Linked DNA regions of Homo sapiens: all the other regions are linked to region 3. Evidence: promoter capture Hi-C in human tissues and cell types (Jung and others, 2019). All regions are on one chromosome and are shown on one strand. The core of a region is centred on a gene start or on the middle of the fragment in contact, and the rest is flanking DNA. Distances in the headings are between cores, read along the strand shown.

Region 1 (4,474 bases), core at 162-2,661, 180 kb before region 3:
CGCGCACAGCCCGGTCTTTACCCTGGATGCTTCCGAACCGGCATCATCTGGCATCTCCGACAGTCTTGATGCGACTTAACGCATGGTAAGAACCCATCAGAGAAGGCCAAAGGGATTTCCAGAGACAGGTAGAGGCACTGCGCTGGGCAGCACCAGGGAGGAATATTATCTTTTCAAGCAGCTGGACTCTGACCTAGAAGCCGGAACTCCTGAGTACTGAGGTCAGCACCTCTCTCACACACCCCCAGCTATAAGCTTGAAGGAAGCCCCTCCCCTTCTCTGGGCCTTGATTTCCCCTCCTGCTCAGTGGGGACGTTCTTGGTCCTCCTTCTTGCCCACTCTACCCAGTCGCCGAGTCTGGCGAAGCAGAGCTGTCTGGGGGTCACCGCAGCAGGAGGGACCGAGCTTAGATACGAAAAAAGACTTCTACACGGCAAGAGCCACAGAAAGGACGCTCCAGCTGGCTCAGCAGAGGGGCATCTCTCCCTTTCAAGAACAAAAGGTGGCAGGTACCCGGGGGCCCTGGGGCAGAACGAGGTAAATTCTGCACGGACTTCCACATCTAAGACCCCAGAAATCTCCAGCCGGCTCCCTCCGACCGTGAGTGCGTAAAACCCGGGAGCAGCAGGAGGGGAGGGCGGGGGTGCAGCTGGCCCCCCTGGGGTGTCCCCTCAGTCCCTGCGCCCCCGACCCTCGCCGGGCCAGCCTGGGGAAAGCCTTTCCGCCTCCGTGCGCTGCCCCGACTCCTACGTGGGGAGGGAACGTGGAGTCGGGATCTCGGCGGCGTGGGCGGGCCGGCTGGCAGCCGGCAGGCGAGAAGGAATCTCCCGGCCCACGCGCCCCCTCCCAGCGTCCAGCCTCGCACTTCCTCGCGGGGGCGGCGGCGAGGACCTGCACCCCGGCGCGGGGAAGCCGCGTGCCCACAGCCTCCGCGCGCCCCCGCCGCCCCGCTGAGGAAGGCGGCTGCTGAGTCACCCGCGAAGGGAAGCGCGGCCCGGGCGCCCCCGCCTCCCCGCGCCCCAACCCCCGCGCACAGCCGCCCGCCCACGGTGTCTGGGGCCTCCCGGCGCAGGGCGCCGCCTCCTCCCGCGTTCCCGGCCCGAGGGGGCTCGGAAGGGGCTTCGGCGCTGCGGCACCGCCCGCCGCCAGCCCGGGGAGCATCGGGGCCGCGGCCTTCGGGCCGGGTGCTGGGTGCTGGGTGCGCGCCCCTCCTCGGCCTCCACGGGCCGCAGCCGGGGCTAGTGTGATGGTGCGAGTAGATTGCCTTGGAGAAGAAGGGGACATTGAGGCGGGGGCGGCTAGGAGGGGTCGGGGATGAGGACGGTGACACCGAGGTACAAATTCTACTCAGCATCCACCTTTCCTGTCTTCCTTGTACCCAAGACACCTCAGCAAAAAAAAAAAATAAATTTAAAACTCCCAGCCTTATCTTGGCCTTCTCATGTTTATGTTTGTGTTTTATCGCATCACAGTCTTAGAATTCCCAGGGCTGTAGGTCTCCTCAGCCTACGGTGCGGCATAATAGTTCTGAGCAGGGCCCTGGGTTTGAATCTCGACTCAGTCGTTCACTAGCTGTGTGATCTCAAGCAATGAGAGCCTCGCGTTTCCCGTTCGTAAAATAAGGAATACGAATGGTACCACCCTCCTGGGATTGCTGGGAAAATTCAGGGGTGATGCCAGTAAAGCGTCAGGCAAGCCGAGTGCCTGGCACGCAGTGAGGGCTCGACGCGGGGTGGTTGCTGTCACTTTGGGACCCTTCCAGTGGCAGAAGGTGCTCTTTGAAGGTGAGAGGCCTCACCACCCCCCACCCTGACCCCGGCATCTTCTAAGGGGCTCTGAACAGGACTCCTTCCCTGTTTGACTTCACACCCTTTCAAATATTTGAAGGCAGATAGCCATCCTTCCCTTCCCTTGCCTTCCAGTCCACTGACACCCCTCCGCCATCTACTTTCAGGAGAACATACCTGATCCTGGCACTTCCTGCTCCTCATGGTTCTGCGGGTGGCCCTGCCTCACCTGGGTTACTGCTCTCCGAGAACACAGAGGGAGCTGGGAGTGAGCCCTGCAGCGCAGGGGCTGTGGCCAGACCAGCTTTGGGCACAGGGAGGCCCTCCCTCACCCCCCGCCTAGCTTTGGATGGTGGCTAGGGACCCACTGGCTTTCTCAGCCCCAGCCACAGATGGGACCTATCACACATGAGGTCAGCTAAAGCCTCAGGGCTCTTTCACTTGAAGGACTCTGGCTTCTGGCCACCTGTACTTGTACAGGTGGCTTTTAACATACACACAAAATTGCTAATGTAATTTGCTTTTAATGTAATTCACCTTTTCCTTTCTTTAAGAGATGGTGACTCTGTCACCCAGGCTGGAGTACAGTGGCACAATCATTGCTCTCTGCAGCCTCGAACTCCTGCGCTCAAGTGATCCTCCCACCTCAGCCTCCCAGGTAGCTAGGACTACAGGCATGCATCACGACACCTGACTAATTTTCTTTGTTTTTGTAGAGACGGAGGCCTCCCTATGTTGCCCAGGCTGGTCTCGAACTCCTGGCCTCAAGCAATCTTCCCAATTCAGCCTCCAGAGTAGCTTGATTTACTCTTTTCAAATAGACAATACATTGACCTAGTACAAGATTCAAAAGAAAAGAGTTTACAGTGAAAAGCATCGCCCCCATCCTTGTTTCCTAACCACTCGAATTCCTGCCCGCCCCCACACCTTCCAGCAACCACTATTATTTCTCACGTCTTTCCAGCTATATGTACATTTAAGCAAAATGTTTATTTCTTTTTACAGAGATACTAGTATCCTATATGCTGTTCTGCACCTTGAGTTTTGTTCCCTAATAATGTATCTTAGTGATCTTTCCTTATTAAATATAAAAAGAGCTGCCGCGTTCTTTTTTAATAGCCGCAAAATATTCCACTGTATGGCTGTGAAGCTAGGTCCTTTCTGCTGTCTGCTGAGAGTTTTGGAAGGCAAGTAATTATTTAAGGTGGGCTTTCTGAGGGCCAGAGAGGGGAGGAAGCAGGTATGATTGAGCAGCTGCATTTGAACTTGCCTCTCTGGCTGACGTGCTGCTGCAGCCTCCTGCAGACATGGGTCAGTTGCAGCAGAAATACGATTCGGCAAGTGCTTCTCCGTCTGAAAACTCCAGCTTGGTTCACTTTTGCTCCCCGGGGCTCCCTTTGTTGTCAGCAGTTATCAAGTTTGGGGGAGCCATCAGGGTGTTAGCATCTGGCTCTAAACCAGCTGAAGGTGAGTCCTACAACCCCAGCAGTTTCAGGAAGCCTTCCTGAACCGATCTGATAAATAAATAGATGTTCTTATAGCCTCACTCCTTACTTTTCACCCCAGGCTGAGCACACACCAGTCCTTGCTAAGAACAAAATTAGTTCTTTATTCTTGTGGCTTAGAAAAGCTTGTTTTCTTCTTTCTGTAAGTATATATTTTCCTGGCATCTGTATTCTTCCTTTCACTTAACAAATATTTATTATCTGCTGTGTGCCAGTTACTATTCTAGGCCCTGGGGTATAGCAGTGAACAAAAAAACTCCCAAATTCCTTTATGAAGCTTACAGACAAACAAGATCACTAATGAAAACTTATAGTGCATCTGATGGGATAAGAGCCCTGGAGAAAAAGCAGAGAAGAGACCCGGAATAAAGGAATCTGCACTTTCAAACTGGGTGCCCTGGGGAGACAGCACCTGAGCAAAGTCCTGGAGGAGGGGAGGGAGGGAGTTCTGTGGCTGTCTGGGGACGGGCATTCCTGGCAGGACAAACAGCTAGCATAGAGGCCAAGGGTGGGACCCTGCCAGGTTGTTCAAGTAAGACAAGGGCCGAGAGCACAGGGAGAGGCGCCTGAGGCCAAGTCAGAGAGATTGTTGGGGCATGGGAGGGTAGGAGGGTGCAGGCGCGTAGCAGATCTTGTAAGAGATTCTCAACTGGGATTTCCAGGTCCACCAGGGAGCATTTGGAATGTGTGGGCACATTTTAGTTGTCACAAATGCTGATGGGGCTTGGATGAGGAAGGTTGTTGTTCTGTGGCATGCAGTGGGTAAGGGCCATGTCAAACATCCTGCAGTGTGTGGGACAGACCACACAGTGAAGAATTTTCCTGCCAGAAATGCCCCTGTTTCTTGTTGTTGAGGGCATTGGAGTCCGTTAGGAAGTGTTTGGCTTTTACCTTCAGAAAAACTAGGAACCAGTGGATGACTTTGAGCAGAGGGTGCTTAAAAGGAACTTTGGATGCTGGTTTGAGAATAGACTGAAGAGGGAAGAAAGGCAGAAGCAGGGAGTTCAGGTAGAAGGTTGTTACACAGCCCAGGTAAGAGATGCTAGTAGCTTGGACCAGGGTAGTAGCAATGAAAGTATGATCTGCAGCCAAGACAACAGTACTTCCTGAGGGATCAGTGTGGGATGTGAGACAAAGAGGAGTTGAGGATGAGCTCAAGGTTTGGGGCCAAAGTTATTAGAA
Region 2 (4,419 bases), core at 875-3,374, 210 kb before region 3:
ACTCACCCCAGTTCCCATGACCAGAGTGACAAACTCAGTCTTCTGGCTCCAGGAAAACTCTCACTGCTCCTACTAAACACTAAAACCTGCTGAGCATTTACTCTACGCAAGATACTGTGCTCCCACAACTCCATTATACCCATAGTACGGGGGAGGAAACTGAGGCTCAGAGAAGTTACATAACTTCCCCAAGACCCCAATGCTGGGAAGGGGCAGAATGAGAGTTCAGACCCGTGCCTGCCTTTTCCAGAATCCATATTCTTTTCCACGACCTTATTCCACTTTTAAATCCAGAGAAGCTCCAAGGAAATGGTGTCCTGGGAGAAGGGGTGAGGGCCTGGGTGCTCCAGATGGCTCAGTGCCTGGCAGGACTGGCTCCACCCATCAGGCGGGCATCGGGGGAGAGTAGGGTTTTCCTAGCTCAGAATGTGACTATAGCAGGTACCCAGAGATGCCCTCCCATCCCTAGGCTGTACACTGCATCCCCTCAATTGACTGTCGCTATGTGAGACACAAAAAATTTGTGCCTCGGGCTGCGTTTAAGAGAACCCCTGGCTGAGAAAACTCAGGGCAACCTGGTCTGGGTGGCATTTCTGGCTCTGCTGTGTACTAGCTTTGGACAAGTCACTTTATTTCTGTGCACCTCTGTTCCCTTTGCATACTTGACATCACGTCATCAAGCATCCATTTTCAGGATCATCGCTAACTCCCTGCCCCAGGTACTCTCTTCACATCAGACGTCCTAATGTGTGGTGCAGAGAAATAGGGGCGGGGCTTAGGGTAGGAGGCATGGGTTTCAGCCCTAGTTGTGCCTCCATGGCTGTGTCACTTCAAGCAACTCACCCACTCTATCTGCAAGCTCCACCTCCCGGGTTCACACCATTCTCCTGCCCCAGCCTCCCGAGTAGCTGGGACTACAGGTGCCCGTCACCATGACTGGCGAATTTCTTTGTATTTTTAGTAGAGACAGGGTTTCACCGTGTTAGCCAGGATGGTCTTGATCTCCTGACCTCATGATCCAGGCTGGGATTACAGGTATAAGCCACTGCGCCCAGCCAATACATACTTTTATATGATCTAGCAATTTCAATTCTATGTTTTTACTCTTAATAAAACACATGAAACATATTAAAATATATGTCCCCACAAAAACTTGTCCATTAATAATCACAGCAGCTTTATTCAAAATAACCAGAATCCGGAAACAACCAAAATGTCCATCAACAGTTGATGACATGAATTATGGTACATCTACTGTGAGTACAACTCTAAAATAAAAGGAACAAATGAATGATACCTATAACAGAATGGAGGAACCTCAAAAGTATTATGCTGAGCAAAAAAGAAAAACATGGCCAGGCATGGTGACTCACACCTGTAATCCCATCATTTTGGGAGGCTGAGGAAGGCAGATTGCTTGATCCCAGGAGTTTTAGACCAGCATGCACAACATGGGAAAACTTTGTCTCTACAAAAAATACAAAAATTAGCTGGATGTAGTGACATGCACCTGTAGTCCCAGCTACTAGGGAGGCTGAGGTGAGAGGATCACCTGAGCCTGTGAGGTTGAGGCTGCAGTGAGCTGTGATCATACCACTTCACTCCAGCCTGGGTGATGGAGTGAGACCCTGTCTCAAAAAACTAAAAAAGGGGACTCAGAAAAAAATGGCAAATAGGAGGCAGGTCTAACTTGCAGCTCCCACTCAGATGGAGACAGAACAGTGTGTGAAGACTCACATTATGAACTTTTGCTCCAAGAACTACCGCAAAACATACCAGGAAACCCAAAGGAATTCACAGACCCTTTGAAAGAAGCAGCTCGCCGCTGCAAACTTCATGAGACAGCCAAAAAACTGTGAGTGCCTAAAGTGTGAGAGGGGGAAGGTCTGCCTCCAAATACACATCCTTACTGGGGAAACTGAAAATCCAGATCACAGGAGAAGGATTTAACCTTACGTAGAGGTGAAATAAATTTAGAGAGCCGAGTGAAATATAAAAGTAGAAGCAGCGGTGAGAAGAGCTCTGTAAGTACTCCCAGCCCCCAGGGAAGCCCAGGGAAGCCATTTCTGACTTTCTCTCACAGGGGTCCTCAGGGAGGGCAGAGAGTGGGACTGGGGAAGGGTCACAAGGAGGAGACTTCCAGCAGAACTTTGTAATAATTTCGACTGAGCATGAATTTTCCTGGACAGCATTGTGGGGTAGGGCAAAAACGGGAAGTGCAGATATGAGCACAGAAGCCAAGGCAAGCAGAGAGGGGTGAGACCTGAAAGCCCTGCTTGCTTTCTCAGCAGAGAGGCTTGTAGCCTGGGGCAATATCTCAGCCTTGCAAACCTGAGGCCTGGATATAAATTCAGCTCTGTCGGGAGAGCATGACAGGAGCACTGGCCTTGCTGGCTACACGGGAGCTGGGTGAGACCTGTTGCTGCCGGCTTTCCCCCACTTCCCTGGGACTTGTATGAAGCATCAGAGGCAGCCATAATCCCTCTTGGAGCATAACTCCACTGACCTGAGAACAACCCCCCATCCCCCACAGTGGCCACAGCAAGCCCAGCCCTAGGAGAGTCTGAGCTCAGACATGCCTAACACTGCCCCAACCTAATGGTGTTTCTTTACCAGCCCTGGTAGCTGAAGACAAAAGACGAACTCATGGGAGCTCTATGGCCCTGCCCATCACCTGAGAAACCCAAATACTTACCCAGGTGACCTTAGAGCAAGCTTGTATCCACCCCTATACTACCACAGCTAATGCTCTCTTGAAAGCACCACCTCCTAGTGGGAGGCCAACCAACTCAAGCCATTACAGCAACTCATAACAGAACAGCACTGCTCCAAAAAAGGAGAAAACAACAGCCAATTCCACTGCCTGTAACATCTTGGGTCCCCAGAGGCCCTGAGTCTGTCCATGTAGCAACTTCATTGCTAGTATAACCAGCATTCGAGAAAAACAGCACACTAAACAAAACTACAACCAAGGACTCTGACAGAGTCCACTTCACTCCCCTGCTACCTCCAGCTGAGCGGGTGCTGGTATCCACAGCTGAGAGACCTGAAGATGAATCACATCACAGGACTCTTTGCAGACACTCCCCAGTAACAGCCCAGAGCCTGGTAGCCCCGCTGGGTGGCTAGACCGAGAAAAGCAATAACAATCGCTGCAGTCCAGCTTTCAGAAAGCCGCATCTCTAGAGGAAAGGGGAGAGCACCACATCAAAGGATCGCCAGTGGGACAAATCTGAACAGCAGCCCTTGCACCCCAAATCTTTCCTCTGACATAGTCTACCCAAATGAGAAAGAACCAGAAAAACAATTCTGGTAGTATAATAAAACAACGTTCTATAACACCCCAAAAGGTCACACTAGCTCACCAGCAAACATGGATCCAAACCAAGAAGAAATCTCTGAATTGTCAGAAAGAGAATTCAGAAGGTCAATTATTAAGCTACTCAAGGAGGTATCAGAGAAAGGTGAAAATCAACTTAAAGAAACTTAAAAAATAATACAGGATGTGGATGAAAAAAATCTCCAAATAAATAGATCTCATAATTAAAAAGCAATCACAACTTCTGGAAACTAATGACGCACTTAGAGAAATGCAAAACACACTGGAAAGTTTCAACAATAGAATCAAACAGGTAGAAGAAAGAACTTCAGAGCTCAAAGACAAGGCTTTTGAATTAATCCAACCTGACAAAGACAAAGAAAAGAGCATTTTAAAAATGAACAAAGCCTCCAGGAAGTTTGATATTATGTTAAATGACCAAACATAAGAGTAATTGGTATTCCTGAAGAAGAAGAGAAATCTGAAAGTTTGAAAAACTTATTTGAGGGAATAATTGAAGAAAACTTCCCTGGCCTTGCTAGAGATCTAGACGTCTAAATACAAGAAGCTCGAAGAACACCTGGGAAGTTCATCACCAAAAGATCATCACTTAGCCACATAGTCATCAGGTTATCTAAAGTTGAAAAGAAAAAAGGGATCTTAAGAGATGTGAGGCAAAAGTATCAGGTAACCAATAAAGGAAAGCCTGTTAAATTAACAGCAGACTTCCTAGCAGAAACTCTGCAAGCCAGGAGGGACGGAGATCCTATCTTTAGCCTCCTTAAACAAAATAATTATCCAGCAAGAATTTTGTATCCAGTGAAACTAAGCATCATAAATGAAGGAAAGATAAAGTCTTTTTCAGACAAATACTGAGAGAATTCACTACCAACAAGCCAGCACTACAAGAACTGCTAAAAGTAGTTATAAATCTTGAAACAAAACCTTGAAATACACAAAAATAGAACCTCCTTAAAGCATAAATCTCATGGGGACCATACAATAACACAATGAAAAAACAAGGTATTCAGGCAACAACCAGCACAATGAGCAGAATAGTACCTCAAATCTCAATACTAACATTGAATGTAAATGGCTGA
Region 3 (4,476 bases), core at 386-2,885:
TTAGTTAGCAACTACTATAGACTAGGCACTTCACATACATTCTTTTCATTTAATTCTCACAACAACCCTGAGATGTAAGCATTATTACCTCCACTTTATAAATAAGGAAGTTGCAGCTCAGAGAGGTTAAATAATGTGACTGCTGCTGCCATATAGCTACTAACTTGCACAGCCAGGACTTAAACCCACTCTGCCCCTGCTCTTTCAGTTCCATCCCTTTGATTACATTGGCTGCCTAGGTTCACTGGTGTGTCTACTAAAAGCATCTTCTAATGACTCTGCCTTGATTTTGCAGAGTGGCCTCTTTTCTGGAGAAGGAGGCAGATGGACTTTTTTCTAAGCCTCAAGCAAAGTTCATGTTAACAGAACTTTCTCAGCAGTAACCTCTTCTGGCCACAGACTCTACTTTGGCTCTGACCCAGAAAATTAGAAAGTCAGTGAACAGGCCGGGTGCAATGGCTCACGCCTGTAATCCCAGCACTTGGGAGGCCGAGGCGGGTGGATCTCCTGAGGTCAGGAGTTTGAGACCAGCCTGGCCAACATGGTGACACCCCGTCTCTACGAAAAGTACAAAAATTAGCTGGGCATGGTGGCAGGCACCTGTAATCCCAGCTACTCAGGAGGCTGAGGCAGGAGAATCGCTTGAAACCAGGAGGCAGAGGTTGCAGTGAGCCGAGATCGCGCCACTGCACTCCAGTCTGGGCAACAAAGCGAGACTCTGTCTCAAAAAAAAGAAAAAAAAAAAAAGTCAGGGAACAGCAGGCATCTATGTTTATCTGATAAATTAGGGAATGAGCTCCTTTCTACAAAGGAGAAACTCAAGTAACTGGTCCCAAGAGGGCTCCTCAGTCCTTTTGGGAAGGTTGTCTAAGGTACTGACTGTGCTGGCCTCCCCTCCCTTTACCAGCTGATGGATCTCTCCCAGTGATGGAAAGCCTTCCCTTCTCCACCCTCCCAGACCCTAGGAGAAACAGTAGCCTTCTCCTGGCTCCCTTAGCCTCATTAGAGCTGCTTCTCAGAGGTAGCATGTTGTGTCTGAAAGGTCATGAGCTGTAGAGTCAGATGAGGCCAGGTTCAAACATTAGTTTTTTCTCATACCAATGTCTGACTTCAGAGAAGTTAATGAATGACTCTGAGCCTTAGTTTGTTCATCTGTAAAAGTGGGGATGATAGATAGGATATACTTAGCTATAAGAATTAAATGAGGAAATATACATATGTATACACACTTAATAGAATAACAGGTACTCAAATTTTTGTTTTCTTTCAGTCCTGTCAGAGTTGATCATTGTTCTCTTTTCTCAGAGAAGAAAGACTTTGTTTTCTTGGAGTTAAATCCAGTTGTCTTTCCTCTCAATCTAGGGCTCTCTCTTTCCAAATCACAGTGTCACTTAAGTCAACAGCCACCCAAGTTTCAGAAAGTCAAGAAAATAGCACATAATCTTTGCATTTGCACACATACATGTCAGAAGCGTACTTTCTAGGCGAGGGTAAGAAAAAAGTCCTTTGGTTGTAAGTCCCATGGATCCCACCAACCTGCAGTCTGAGACGCAGAAATAGAAAAAAAAGAGAAGAAAACATTTCGAACCTTAGTGAAGCTGCTGCCAGAGGTCCAGTCAGGGGAGAAGAATTATCTAAGGGGGAAGGAGAAGGTGCTGGCTATTTAAAGTGTGGTTCCAGAACGCCTCTGTGGCACTTGAAATTCTAAACTTGGCCCAGCCCACATTCCACCCTTGTGCCTCCCCCTCCCCTTTTCTCCCCTCCCCTCCCCTCGGCCACTGGACAACCCACACATGAGTGATTTCGCAGTCTGGGGAGTGTGCACGCCCTGGCAGGTCGGGCCAGTTGCTGGTGAGCTTATGAAGTGTGGTCTCCTCCCCGGAGCTCATGTGCGCTTCCCACCTGGTGAGCTCAGGGTCTCTCTGGAGGGATCCTGCCTCCCACCCCTGTCTCCAACACAAGTGCTCCTATAAATCCATCAAGAATAGGTATTCCTTTGGTCAGGTGCTGTGTAGATTAATTTAAAAATACATTTATCTTACCGTTTCGCAGCTTGCAATGTGGAATGGACGATGATTTAGAACAAAGATACATAGATACAGAACTCTGAGATGTCAGAAAAACTTCCCAAACATACACAGACATTTATACACATATAGAAAAAGTCTGAAAAAATCTTCGCTAAATGATTAATAGTAGTTACATTTGTAGAGTGGAACTGAGATCAGGAGATGGCAGTAAGGGAGATTTTTTCCCCACTTTTTCAATATTGTTTAGATTTTTTAATATGCTAGAATTTTAAAATATTTTTTAAATCAATAGAGAAAAGGAAGTGCCAACGTTTAAAATAAAGCAAAGCCCTAAAGCTGTTATAAGGGAAGGAGCAGGCGGTGAGCGCGAGGCCGAGGTCATCCAGGGAGCTTCGTTTCTCTGCAGGAACAGCCCACAGAGGCGGCTGTGAGAGTAGTTCATTCAGCCTGGAGTCTAGGACAGGGCAGAGTCCCACCTCAGCCATGTGCTGAAGCACAGTACATGTAGTGGAAACCTGCTCAGACTTTGACACCAGAGAGTGTGGGGTCTGAGTCCTACGTATGCCACTGTCTAGCTTGAGATTTCAGGAGATGATGACTAACTGTAAATGGCAGCTGTTATTCATCCTTAAGGGATTATTCACAGTGAGCAGTGAGCCCGGAAGTCTTCTTGAAGGAGACGGGACTGAGAGACCCCTGAGCTAAGCTGGGCTCTGGCCAGACTGTGAGAATGAGTTAGGTAGGGGATGCGGCAATGAGTGAGTGAGGTGATAGAGACATCTTGAGATGACGGAGAAGTGTGGAAAGAAAGACGGATCGAAGAGTCTAAGGTAGTTTCCGTTTCCTTGATCCCTCATCTAACTCAAGGGCATGGGGTAGGGGCATGGAAACACTGCATGGTAATACCTGGAGAGCTTCCCAGAAGCTTCTTGGAAATTATTATTCTTATGTTTCAGCGGCCCCTGTTCCTCTCCCCTTTCAAGCTTTCATCTGTTAGACTGAGCTCTGTAAAGCAATAAACCAAAAGCGTCCTGAGACAGCCTACAAACTCATGTAAAAAAAAGACCATCTTCAAAGCAGTGCTATTGACTTCCATTTTTACGTATCACTGAGTGGTACTTACTAATGGCCTACTATGCATTATAAACTTTGGCATTTGTAATCTAAAATTACCAGATAACGGGTGTTTTCTCAGATACCATTCAGCCTTTGGCAATGTTGCACAGCCCCTTCTGTGTCCTCACATATGCAAACGGTTGCAATTTCCAGCTTCCAGGAAAGACTGTCAGTGATAAGGACATCATCAGGCTTATCCTGAGTTGGTTGTGAGCTGCTGCTGTTGTATGAAGGAATGTTGGCTTTACTTACCAACTCTTTTGTTTTTACATAACTGCTGCCATGTTACCATGTTGACTCCTATTTTATTCCTCTCCAAATCTTTGTTATCCCCAATTTCTTTTTCCTCTATAAAGTGGGAATGGCTATGGTAGGTTTTTTGTCCTGCTTAGGTTGACAAAAGTTAAAGAAAAAAAAAAAAAGCTTGAGAACCACTGGTAGATAAATGTTGGCGACAGTCCCTCACAACTTCCCGTCTGGGGTTCCACACAAAACAGGCATGACTAGCCTTGCATCTACCTCACGTTGCCATCATCCTTTGGTCTGCTGGGTGCAAAGTCAAGAAACCTGAAAACAGGTAACAACAGAATCCGTATTCAACAGTTCTTACTCAAGAGGCTGCATAAGTTTTAAGACTCACTAGAGATTGTCAGTGAGGATAATTGAAGGCTGTGCTTCCAACAACAGGATTGTATAAAACAAAGTGAACCACGCAAAAAGCAGGCCTAGGAGTCCTGGTTTGTACCAAGTTGATCCCAGGTATGTTTAAATGACAGTACGCCATGATACGCTCTCCCAAAAATTGTTTGACTCTACTAGGAGTGGAATAAGAACAAATAAAATTTTTTTCTAGTTTGACATTTCACAGAAACAAATTTTAAAAGCAGCACGATTTGTTTCAAGAAAGAACATTTCTGAGCAACATCAAGGTGGCAAAGGAAGTGGTGGGTTCTCCTCTGGAGACCTTTAAATTAAGAGATATAGTTCTGTTTAACCACAGGAGTCAGAAACCTGTTGACTTTTTGGATCCCTTTTCAAACATCACACTGAAAGAAAAGAAAAGAGCAAGTAGAACAGACTAAACAACAAATTATGGCTTTTGCTATAACTGAAATAATTTGAACAACAAAATGAATAATGATAGTATTGGATTGTAGCCCAAAGAACAAAGTTCACTAATAAGTTCATGCTGATACAAATAACCAACAAGTTAATAAGTGGGATAAAAGGACTAGTCTTCCTTACAGTTGAATTCCAATTAATACATATAGAAGGATGCCGAGCATGGTGGCATGCACCTGTAATCTCAGTTACTCAGGGAGGCTGAGGT

Evidence for each region. Contacts are between HindIII fragments. The study calls those that stand out against the background at their distance.
Region 1: a fragment that was not itself captured here is called in contact with the fragment with the promoter of SLC6A13 in region 3 in 3 of the 25 tissues and cell types used here (aorta, dorsolateral prefrontal cortex and mesendoderm cells).
Region 2: a fragment that was not itself captured here is called in contact with the fragment with the promoter of SLC6A13 in region 3 in 5 of the 25 tissues and cell types used here (dorsolateral prefrontal cortex, hippocampus, liver and 2 more).

The regions. Positions count from the first base shown.
Region 1 is chr12:77,113-81,586 of GRCh38, forward strand. All of the region lies in intron 1 of IQSEC3 (IQ motif and Sec7 domain ArfGEF 3), which reads left to right. Among named protein-coding and RNA genes, the nearest start is that of IQSEC3, 13 kb to the left of the region's middle. The HindIII fragment of the contact is 4,163 bases long and covers 1-3,493 here.
Region 2 is chr12:54,679-59,097 of GRCh38, forward strand. No RefSeq gene overlaps it. Among named protein-coding and RNA genes, the nearest start is that of IQSEC3, 9.9 kb to the right of the region's middle. The HindIII fragment of the contact is 6,090 bases long and covers 1-4,419 here.
Region 3 is chr12:261,201-265,676 of GRCh38, forward strand. SLC6A13 (solute carrier family 6 member 13) reads right to left here and starts at 1,636. Exons shown (of 15, transcript NM_016615.5): 1 at 1,589-1,636. The HindIII fragment of the contact is 8,106 bases long and covers 1-3,291 here.